Regions from separate parts of the Homo sapiens genome. Here regions 1, 2 and 4 are each linked to region 3. Evidence: promoter capture Hi-C in human tissues and cell types (Jung and others, 2019). All regions are on one chromosome and are shown on one strand. Each heading gives the region's core, a stretch centred on a gene start or on the middle of the fragment in contact. The rest is flanking DNA. Distances are from core to core; before and after follow the strand shown. Region 1 overlaps LPP (LIM domain containing preferred translocation partner in lipoma). Region 2 has its middle 53 kb from the start of TPRG1-AS1. Region 3 holds the start of BCL6 (BCL6 transcription repressor). Region 4 has its middle 49 kb from the start of TPRG1-AS1.

What was found. The method cuts DNA at HindIII sites, captures the fragments that hold promoters and counts their contacts. A contact is called where the count stands out against the background at its distance.
Region 1: a fragment that was not itself captured here is called in contact with the fragment with the promoter of BCL6 in region 3 in 7 of the 25 tissues and cell types used here (H1 embryonic stem cells, adrenal gland, aorta and 4 more).
Region 2: a contact is called between a fragment that was not itself captured here and the fragment with the promoter of BCL6 in region 3, in 1 of the 25 tissues and cell types used here (lymphoblastoid cells).
Region 4: a contact is called between a fragment that was not itself captured here and the fragment with the promoter of BCL6 in region 3, in 2 of the 25 tissues and cell types used here (lymphoblastoid cells and thymus).

The regions. Positions count from the first base shown.
Region 1 is chr3:188,863,272-188,865,971 of GRCh38, reverse strand. All of the region lies in intron 9 of LPP (LIM domain containing preferred translocation partner in lipoma), which reads right to left. Among named protein-coding and RNA genes, the nearest start is that of TPRG1-AS1, 83 kb to the left of the region's middle. The HindIII fragment of the contact is 3,969 bases long and covers 1-2,700 here.
Region 2 is chr3:188,892,845-188,895,544 of GRCh38, reverse strand. No RefSeq gene overlaps it. Among named protein-coding and RNA genes, the nearest start is that of TPRG1-AS1, 53 kb to the left of the region's middle. The HindIII fragment of the contact is 6,568 bases long and covers 1-2,700 here.
Region 3 is chr3:187,744,184-187,746,883 of GRCh38, reverse strand. It overlaps BCL6 (BCL6 transcription repressor), which reads left to right and starts at 1,416. Exons shown (of 10, transcript NM_001706.5): 1 at 1,416-1,474. It overlaps BCL6-AS1 (BCL6 antisense RNA 1), which reads right to left. Exons shown (of 2, transcript NR_173091.1): 2 at 858-1,640. RefSeq lists an enhancer at 1,778-2,303. The HindIII fragment of the contact is 4,851 bases long and covers 65-2,700 here.
Region 4 is chr3:188,994,803-188,997,502 of GRCh38, reverse strand. It overlaps a transcript of TPRG1 not described here. Among named protein-coding and RNA genes, the nearest start is that of TPRG1-AS1, 49 kb to the right of the region's middle. The HindIII fragment of the contact is 7,765 bases long and covers 1-2,700 here.

The DNA.
Region 1 (2,700 bases), core at 111-2,610, 1.1 Mb before region 3:
AGAGAAGGAAACACAATTAGATGGGTCAAGTGGCTTTTCTAGTATTACTCAGGTAGTAGGTGGCAAGTCCAGAACTGAGGACATGTGTTTTCTGACTGCTATCCTTGTTCCTTCCCTTGTTTCCTACAGCATGGGTGATGGCAAACTTTTCTCTAAAGTCCCATATAGTAAATATTTCTGGCTTTGTTGTAACAAGTCAACTTTGCTATTATAGCTGGAAAGCAGTCATAGCATGCAAGCATATGGGCATGCTTGTGTTCCAGTAATACTTTATTTACAAAAAAAAAACAGACAATGGGCTGGATTTGACCCATGGGCATAGTTTGTTGACCCTTGAACTATACCACTCTGGTTCACCGATTGAGGAATGCTTCACTATTACTTCTAAAACTTGATTCATTATCAAAGACATAGTGTGACCACTTAGACCATAGTGCGATCACTAAGACCCCTACTTTTTACAGAATAGCCTGTCAGATGACTGAGACAGAGCATGCTAAATGCAGAACCCAAATCAGAACTCAGCATAATCAATTAGGCTTCTGATCATTTAAAGCTTTGATTTACACACCATCTCCAAGTTTAGAGTTTGCAAACTCTTGACAGAAATGTTGAATGTAGAAGGGAGCTGGTTTGAAAAAGTGAATTAAGAAACACATTTATCTGGCCTTAAAAATATTCTAAGCTTTAAAAATATATAGCACCCCTTAAAAGAGACACCAGTTAGTGAGTCAGGTCTCAGAAAGATCGGCTGTTAACTTTCCATCCTGCCCTTTAATTCCATGCTCTTAGCAAACAACCACGTTTCACATGTAAAATGCTATATTACAACTGAGGTATCTGGATTAACTCATTGAGTTTACAATCAGGAATAAACCCGGGATGTGGATCTTATTAGAAAGATGCAGAACTGAATGGGATGTGGAAATTCAGGGGTAGCTGCTCTTTTACCATGAGGATATATAAATGGCTATGAAGCAAGAAGTGTCTGTACGTAGGTAACTAGTGTCCTTATGTCTAACCTATAGCAATGACCTATGATTTGGCTTCTTTGTATCTCTCTTCTTATAATACTCCCCTTGCCCCTGTCTCCAATGACTTCCAGTTTTCTTTCCAAACACAGATGTGATCAAATACAAGTACCTTTCTGGATAATAAAATCTTAATGGCTTCACAATGTAAAAAGAGCTTATTCTTTACATGGTATCCAACCCCCCTTTATGGTTCTCATAACATCTCAGACCACTCACTCTTGTTCAAACCTATGTGAAACTCCCATACTTCTGTGCCTTGGCTAATGCCTAGATGTATCGCAATTTGCCATTTTGACCTTTCAGGGTACAGGCTAGAAGGCCATTCCCCAGTGAAGCCTTCCTCAATGGTCCCACTTGGAATGAATTGCTTCTTTCTCTCCCATTCCTGAGCACTTTATTTGGTTTGCTTACAATACTTTCAGTGTGCACTTTATTTAAATTATTTGTGCTTATGTCTATTTCCTCTACCAGACTTTAATTTCATTAGGGGCAGAGACTATGTCTTAAGAATGTATTTCTCTGTCCTATAATGCACCCAGTATACTGTCTGAAATAGAAATAAGCCTGAGATGAATGTGTACAAAAAGAATGAACGAATGAATATTGTTTATATCCCACTCTGGCAGCACAGTGCTGGCCTGACTCCCTTAACTCTGGAATCCATCCCAAGATGAATTGGTAAATCCATCATCATCCTTCCCTCAAAGCTGTGGTTGCCTGAGGTTCTGAAATTGCTTCGTATGCCTCTGGTCACAGTCTAAACGCATGGAAACTATTAACCTATTTGTTTTTCCCATTTTGAAGTGGTGAAATTAAAATAGCAGAAGAGCACAGGGTAAGAGTTTGGAGATGATGATGGTTTGAAGAATGAGGGCCTGTTTCTTTTCTACCCTGACAATGTGAGCTAATGTGGCTGGAAATTGTCTTCCCAGGACTTGTGTTTTGCTCCTCTGTGGGTTTTTACTTTTTTTTTTTTTTTTTTAGTCAGCCCTGTAATGGAGTTGAATAACCAGAAAATGTTTGGCCAGAAAATGTTTTTGTTTGCACTGAGGCTTGGCTGCAAGATTCAGCTCATTTACTCAAAACTAGCAGCAATATAACAGGCTTAGTTCCTATGGAAAGACCTTGTGGTCTACAGATGCTGCATTCAAAGAACAGGTAATACAAACATTTCTGCAACAAAGGAAAAAAAGTATAAAATGTGATTAAAATCAGCCTATTGCAAAATGCCCGCAAATTGGAAAATAAAGGTTCCAAGAATGAAGTTGACTGGCATCCTAGGCTAGTGAATGATGTAGAAGGACATGTTATCCTTCGACAGCCTGCGCCTTTTACTGCAATCTTCCCCTTTCAGTCTCCAGTGGGGCCTACCAGTAGCCTTCGAGAAAGGAAAAACTCACAGTGTCAGGAGGAGGGGGCTGGGAGTTCCCTTAGTCCAGACTCTCATTCCACAGGTGAGCAGGCAGACTTTGAGAATGGATGTGCTGGACCTGAGTTGTGGAGAGCATGAGATGCAGAGGTGGGACTGGTACCCCAGTTACCTGACTCCTAATAATGCAGAGAGGGAGCTAAGGAATTCATTATGTGGCCATGAAAAAGGAAAGTTGCTAGGTGAAGAATATGAATTATCCTTCTGGCTTTGTCAAAATCTGCTGTATGACATTGG
Region 2 (2,700 bases), core at 39-2,538, 1.1 Mb before region 3:
AGTCTCGCTGTTGTCCCCCAGGCTGGAGTGCAGTGGTGCAATCTCGGCTCACTGCAACCTCTGCCTCCCGGGTTCAAGTGATTCTCCTGCCTCAGCCTCCCGAGTAGCTGGGACTACAGGCGCCTGCCACCACGTCAGGCTAATTTTTTATTTTAGTAGAGATGGGGTTTCACCATGTTGGCCAGACTGCTCTCAAATTCCTGACCTCAGGTGATCCACTTACCTCAGACTCCCAAAGTGCTGGGATTACAGGCATGAGCCACCACACCTGGTGATAAACTTTTAAATGTGAATTTTTTACATATTACTTTGAGTTTCTATATAGTTTGCTATATAGCTATATCATAGGTGGCAGTTTGGCTTTTTATAGTCTTTATATATATATATATATAAAATTCATGTTTTTAATATAGCTGCACTGACTAGAGTCTTCATTACAAAATTGAATAGAAGGGGCCTATCAATAAAAGAAAGATAGTGAGCATCTTTCTCTTATTTTAGACTTAAAATAATTACTTTTAACGTTTCACTATTTGGAGTGATTTTTGCATAGATAGCCTTTATCCAGTTAAGAAAGTCCTTTCCACTCCTGCTGTGTGTTTTTTTAAAACATAAATGTTTTCTTTTATTATACTGTTTTTAAAAATCTATTAAATAATTTAATCAAAAGACCTTTCTTTTAAAACAAACAAACAAAGAAACAAAAACAGAGTCTCACTCTCTCACCCAGGCTGGAGTGCAATGGCACAATCTTGGCTTACTGCAAACTCCACCTGCAGGGTTCAAGCGATTCTCCTGCCTCAGCCTCCTGAGTAGCTGGGATTACAAGCGCCTGCCACCATGCCCAGCTAATTTTTGTATTTTTAGTAGAGATGAGGTTTCACCATATTGCCCAGGCTGGTCTCGAACTCCTGACCTCAAGTGACCCACCCACCTCGGCCTCCCAAAGTGCTGGGATTACAAGCATGAGCCACCACGCTCAGCCAATCATAAGGCCTCTCTATTTTGTTCTGTGAATGTGGTTCCGCTCACTGTAACCTTGGCCCCCCAGGGTCTAGAGATGCCCCTGCCTTAGTCTCTCGAGTAGCTGGGATTACAGGCACCCACCATCACGCCTGGCTAATTTTTGTATTTTTTAGTAGAGACGGGGTTTCACCATGTTGGCCACGCTGGTTTCCAACTCCTGACCTCAAGTGATTGCCCACCTCAACCTCCCAAACTGCTGGGATTACAGGTGTGAGCCACGGCTCCGGGCCATGTTAATAGACTTTCTAATGTTCAACTACTCTTCTATTTCAGGGTTACACCCAACTTATTTGAGCTTTGTTGTTGTCGTTGTTTTCTTCATTACTGTGCTTGGTTTTCCAGTAGTTTATAAGATTTTAATCGATATATTCACTAATAAGATTGGCCACTTGCCTTATAGATTATGTTGGAGAGTGTTCCCTTTTTTTTTCCATTGTAATTCTAACTTGAACAACCAGTAGAATTCACATTTAGAATCAAGATACTAGGTAGTTTTCGATAAAGAAAATATTTTATCCACTGAAGTAGTATATAAATAAAATGCACAAATCATAAATGTATTGCTCAATACATTTTCAAACACTAAACACAATCATATAACCAGCACTCAGATCGTGAAGCAGAATGTTACCAACCTAAAATGTTAACCCAAAAGCCATTCTCATGCTCCCTTCAAGTAATTATTTATTGGGAATATTTTAACCACTAATACAATTTAACTTTATTGGGTTATTCATGTTGTCTATTTTTTTTTACTCACTTTTTGTTAGGTTACAATTTTTAAAGAGGAACATTTTTATTTCATCTACATTTTCAAATTAATCACATGAAATTGCTCATGCTATTCTGTTATGTTTCTAATACCTGCTGTTATCTATAAATATTTTTCATGCCTTTTTTTCTTGATAAACCTTCCCAGAAATTTGCAATTTCTAACGCTTTTTCAAAGTGCCAAATTTTGACTGTTTTGATATTCTATTATATTCTTGTTTTCTATACCATTAGTTTCATTTTTTTCATATTTTAATTATGCCCTCCTTATATTTTGAATCTTAATTCTGTTCTTTTACTAACGTGAGTTGGATGAGTAGCTCATTAATTTTCACTTTATTTTTAATGTAATCATTTAAGGATTTACATTTCCCTCTTGGAACCATTTGAGCTGACTCCTACAAGTTTTACTACATAGAATTTTCATTATTGTTCAGTTCTTATGATTATGATTTCTATTTTGAAGTAAGCCATTTTAGGGATGTTTTAAAATTTCCAAATGTAAATTTTTAAAATTACCCATGGTTTTTAATTTGCGTTAAATGTTGACATGATGAAAATATTCAATTTGTGTGAAAGATGCTTTGAATTTTGCAGATAATTGGCCTAGAAGGTCAGTTTTAGTAGATTTCTCATATGCACTTTATATATATATATATGATGTATATATATATATATAATGTATATATATATAATGTATATATATATATAATGTATATATTTTAAAAGCTTATTTTTTATCCAATAAGTATGGAGATTCTTATATATCCATTAAAATCAAGCCTTTTAATAATGTTAAAATCTTCTATATCTTTAGTGATTTTTTGTTTTTAACTCATTACTTGAATAGTTACTGAAGAAGGTGTTATTAAAATATCCTTCTCTGAGGGTGGATCTTTGAAT
Region 3 (2,700 bases), core at 167-2,666:
CAAAGCTAAGAAGACTGTGCTGCGTGTAGTGCATTGTAGTTGTGGCAGTCTGTTCTAAATACAGGCAGTATCTGTGATACTGGCACGGCAGGCCTTTAGAATTCCCTCCGGCTGATCTCTTAAACACAGACTGAAGAGATTTTTTTACAACGACCTTGAAACGAGCCTCGAAAACAAAAATCTCAAGACCTTAAGAGAAAACAAAACACAAACAGGTATTTGGCTCACAGAATTTTGTAGAAAACACACACATACCACCCCGCCACCCCCACCCTCCCCCCCACACACACGTTTCTTGCAACAAGAAATTTCCCAAGAGTCAACAATAACAGATTAAACCCACCACTTGCTGTCCTGGAAAGAAACAAACCAAACCAAAACAAATCCTTTGAACATTTCTCTGAAGTGCAGGAGAGACACACTTCAGCAAAAGTCCAAGGGGGAAAAAGAAAATTGCACCAAAGGAAAAAAAAAAAAAAAAAGTGGGGGCTGGGATTGTTACATATGGCCAAAAATTTAAGCTTCTTTCAATAGTATTAGTATTGAAATAATACATCTTTAAAACGCTTGAGGGATTAGATAGGGAAAGAAAAGGCACGTACAAAAAAATCCAACCGATGCCGATCCTGTGATTTACGTAACACCACAAACTTGCAAAAGGCAAAAAATCAGAAGCAAAAATCCATAAACCATCAAAATACAGAAACCAAAAATCCCAAGCCACCACACCAGAAAGAAAAAAACCCAGAACAACAGCAAAAACCCCTGTCCTAAATAAAAATAAAGCAAATGAACCCACCGAAAACTGCTTGGCAAATATTTTTCTCGTGGTGCCTAATATTCTAGTTGGAAAGAGCTGTGATGTTTATTTTATTTTATTTTTCTCTTACTCGCCTCTCTAACCCTACTATATATATAACATACTTTTCCCAGTGGTTCAAACCTCTCGCTCCCTTTTGTGCATTTAGCTCGATCTGCTGAGTTTATGGGTAAGAAAGAAGGAATTAGCCCCAGACCCCGGGAAAGCAAAGCGCACTCCCCCTCTTATGTCACCGAATAGCAAATTAGTTCTCAGAATTCCAGAGGCCGAGCTTTGCTACAGCGAAGGCGCCGACGTCACAGAGGAGGAGCCCACGTGATGGTGGCGGAGCAGGCCATACCATCGTCTTGGGCCCGGGGAGGGAGAGCCACCTTCAGGCCCCTCGAGCCTCGAACCGGAACCTCCAAATCCGAGACGCTCTGCTTATGAGGACCTCGAAATATGCCGGCCAGTGAAAAAATCTTGTGGCTTTGAGGGCTTTTGGTTGGCCAGGGGCAGTAAAAATCTCGGAGAGCTGACACCAAGTCCTCCCCTGCCACGTAGCAGTGGTAAAGTCCGAAGCTCAAATTCCGAGAATTGAGCTCTGTTGATTCTTAGAACTGGGGTTCTTAGAAGTGGTGATGCAAGAAGTTTCTAGGAAAGGCCGGACACCAGGTGATTATTGCTGTTGCTGCCGCCGCTGCTGCTGCTACTGCCGCCGCCGCCGCTGTTGCCGCTGGTGCCGCTGCCGCCGCCGCTGCTCATGATCATTATTTTACCTTTTAATTCTTTTTTTTTCCGCTCTTGCCAAATGCTTTGGCTCCAAGTTTTCTATGTGTATCTATTGATATAAATGTATATATTTATTTATTCTAGCTGTCAGGTGTTAAAATAAATGCCGAAGATTAGTCCCACGTCTCTCCCACCATAGGATATAGATTGTTATGTATTTATTATTATTATTGTTGTCTTTGAGTGAATCGGCCGGTTTGGGGAGGCTTTTGCCACCCTCCCTTGTGTTGTTTTGGTTTTTGGAAAGGAGGTGGAGGAGAGGAAGGAGGGGAATTAGGGGGCGGCCGGAGCAGAGAGGACGAGACAGTGCTTGGGGGGTGATTCGGGCTAGTCTGGGGGCTGTCTGGCCCCAGACCGCGGAGAGGACGCGCGCTCGCGCTCTCGCTCTTTCTGCTGCTGCTTGCGTACGGCTTGTGATCTCTCTGGATTCGTGCGGCTGTGTTTTTTCCCTCTTTTCTCGCTTGCAAACTGCTTTCCTTGCTCCGTCGCTCCTGGCCTCCGCTTCCCTCCCTCCTCTTTTTCCTCGCCTCTTCTTCCTTCCCTTCCCCTGTCCTTCTGGGTAACTCCGGGAGGCAAAAAGGGAGGCTGCCCGCTCGCTCGCCCCGCTGGCTCTCTTCCATCGGCCTCGGTCTTTTAGATTCCCTGCCTTCGAGCCGAACCGAGATTTGGAAGGAAAAAATGCAAGCGAACTCTTTGGGTTTTTGTTTTTGTTTTTTTGGTCATAAATCCAGATGAGATGAAGTATCGTGTCTACTATTTCCTTTCAGAGCCGTGATCTTCCTAATGAGAGCCGAGTGTTTTGGTGTTCCCTGCCCCTGTGTTTTGGGGAGCTTGGGGGCGGGGATGTTGAACACTTTGAAAATTATTCTTTCTTGGTTGTAGTCGAGGGAGTCGGGAACCTCCGCGCGCTCTCCCTGCTCATCCCGAGGAGAGAGACTGATGGCGGGACAGGGCTTCTTGGGGTGGGTGGGAAAGGGGTGCGCACTGCACCTGCGATGCCTTTCAGTGTGCGGGGGGACTCAGGGAACCTCGACAGGACAGCCTGGGAGAACGAGAAAGGTGGCGGGATTTCTGGCCGCTGCGGTGTTTGTATTTTGGGCGCTGCGTGA
Region 4 (2,700 bases), core at 179-2,678, 1.3 Mb before region 3:
AAAACGTTACACTGTACTTCATAAGAAAAACATTTTCCTATAGCTTTCCTCAGAGTTTGATGTATTTAAAAATCTGAGGAAAGATTTTCTGAACTGTACAGAAAGTAAGAGAGTATTTAAAGAGGACCATCTGATGGAGCCAGCGATTACAGTGAGAGCCCCAGGGGAAAAGTGACACATAAGGCAATAGAATGGATGCTTCTCAGCTTAGAAATTATTCTACCTATGTCAAATCTTGAAAATGTTTGCTAAAGAAAAAAATGCATAGAAGGAGGGAGAGAGAGAAGAAAACATAAATGACATGAATTTAAAAAGCACTTCTGGCCGGGTGCAGCGGCTCATGCCTGTAATCCCACCACTTTGGTAGGTTGAGGCTGGTGGATCACGAGGTCAGGAGTTCGAGACCAGTCTGACCAATTTGGTGAAACGCTGTCTCTGCTAAAAATATAAAAAATTAGCCAGGTATGGTGGCACGCGCCTGTAATCCCAGCTACTCAGGAGGCTGAGGGAGGAGATTCACTTGAACCTGGGAGGCAGAGGTTTCAGTGAGCCAAGATCGCACCACTGCACTCCAACCTGGGTGACAGAGTGAGACTCAGAAAAAAAAAAAAAAAAAGAGAAAGAAAGAAAGCACTTCGAACTGGCACTGACGAACCTCACTTGCTTTGAGTTGTTTTTCCAGCAAGGAAAATAGTTTGTGCCAGTGTACCTACCCTCTAGCACCAAGTCCCTCTTGTAGTCATGTTGCTCATAGCTAAGAGGTATCTCACAGTTTAAGACTCAATTTCAGTAGAAAACATATTTAATTAATTTCAACATATTTTCCAGATTAAACGTTAAAGTAAAATACAAATAGATGGAGATGCCATTTTTATTTCTGATCTTTTTGTATATGGCATCTTCTCTCCTAGTAGCTTTTAGAAAACTTCTCTCTGTCCACAGTATTCTTGGTCTTTTTTTCACTTCTTATGATAGCCATGACATGTACATCTTCAACCTGAAAAATCAGGTCCTTTGGATCTGGGAATTTTTTTTCAATCATTGATTGGGTAATTTCTTCTTCACTGTTTACTCTGGTCTTTATTTCCAGAGCTCCTGATAGTTGACTCTTTGAGGATATGGTTTAGTCTTTCAATTTTCTTCTTTATTCTATTAACTATGTCCTTTGTCTTTTTTATTTTAATTTCCCGGTTATGTCTGTATTCCAGCCATTCTTCAGACCTTTTTATTACATATTTTTAATCTCCCAAAGCTCTTTTTTATTCTCCAGTTGTTCTTGTTTCTTGTTTGGTTTTTAAAGATATGAAACATCATATTCTTATTTCCAGAATATTCTATATTTTTATATCTCTCTGAGGATATTGTTTATAATTTTAATTGGCTTCTTTCATTATATCTACTTTAATTATTTTTATTTGTTATTGTATTTTATTTATTTAGTCTGTTTTGTGAGAGGCTTTCCACAGATGCTTTTCTTTTTTCTTGGAATTGTCTGTTTCCTTTGACAATTTTTCTTTAACTTCGATACATTTTTCTTGTTGCTATTGAACAGCTCTTTATATATTAAGGATATTAGCTCTCTGCTTTAGTATGGTCATAATTTTCTTAGCAATTAATTACTTGCCTCATTAAGACATCTGCATAGAAAATTTTAATTGCTATTTGGTTATATTTAGTGATCATTTTATCTTGGTGGTTTCAGTAATACTTAGACAAACCTTCCACAATGGAAGATTATATTTTATAAAATGTAGGTTTTTCTAAAATTTCAATGGTTTCTCTCATTTTTTACATTGATATTATTCGTTCCTACAGAATTAATTTTGGTGTAAAAAGAAAAGATTTCACTTCCTTTTTTCCCACACAGCTAGACACATGTATCAACATAATTTATTGAGAAATACACTGATTGGAAACGTCATTGGTATCAGTTAGGGTTGTATTTGGCTGGATATTTTATAAGCCTTACCAAAGTCATTAAATTAAAAAGATATTTTCCAACATTTAAGCAGAGATCCACAGATGAAAAGTGCTGGACTGTTTTTGCATTGCCATTACTGTCTCTAAAATCCTGCTCCTTATATCTTTATTCTTACAGTTTCCTCATGTGATGTAAAGGCTGCTCAACCCCTCACCTAAAATCAGTATATTCAGACAAGAAGGAAGAAGACAGAGCAGAAAAGGAGGGGAAAAACAAGGAGAAGGAGGATGAAGAAGAGGATGTGATGGTGGTGGTAATAAGGAGAAATAGGCAATGCCTTTAACAGGAAAGGACCTGTCCCTAAACCCCAGTAGACAGCTATTTACATCTTCTTTAGAAGGCTGTATCTTATGGACATATTTGCTGCAAGAAAGGCTAGGAAATGATTTCTAAAGCTGGACATATTGTTACCTTAAGCTTGTATGCGGCTCCCATTAGTAAAAGAAAAAAGGACAATGGATGTTGGATATATAACTAACAGTTGGGTACCAATTGCTACATGCACTTGATGGATGATTTAGTGCATTTGGTTGTGTATAAAATAATAATGCAGAGTATTTTATAAAACAGAACATCTGGAAACAAATTAGTTATATGTATTTAAAAATAAGAAAAATTAATAAACAAGGCAACTATTGACTTCAGGGAAAACAAAGAACTGTATAAAAACTCAAGCAATCATAATTTATTATTTATCTTAACAATAAACCTTGCTTTTA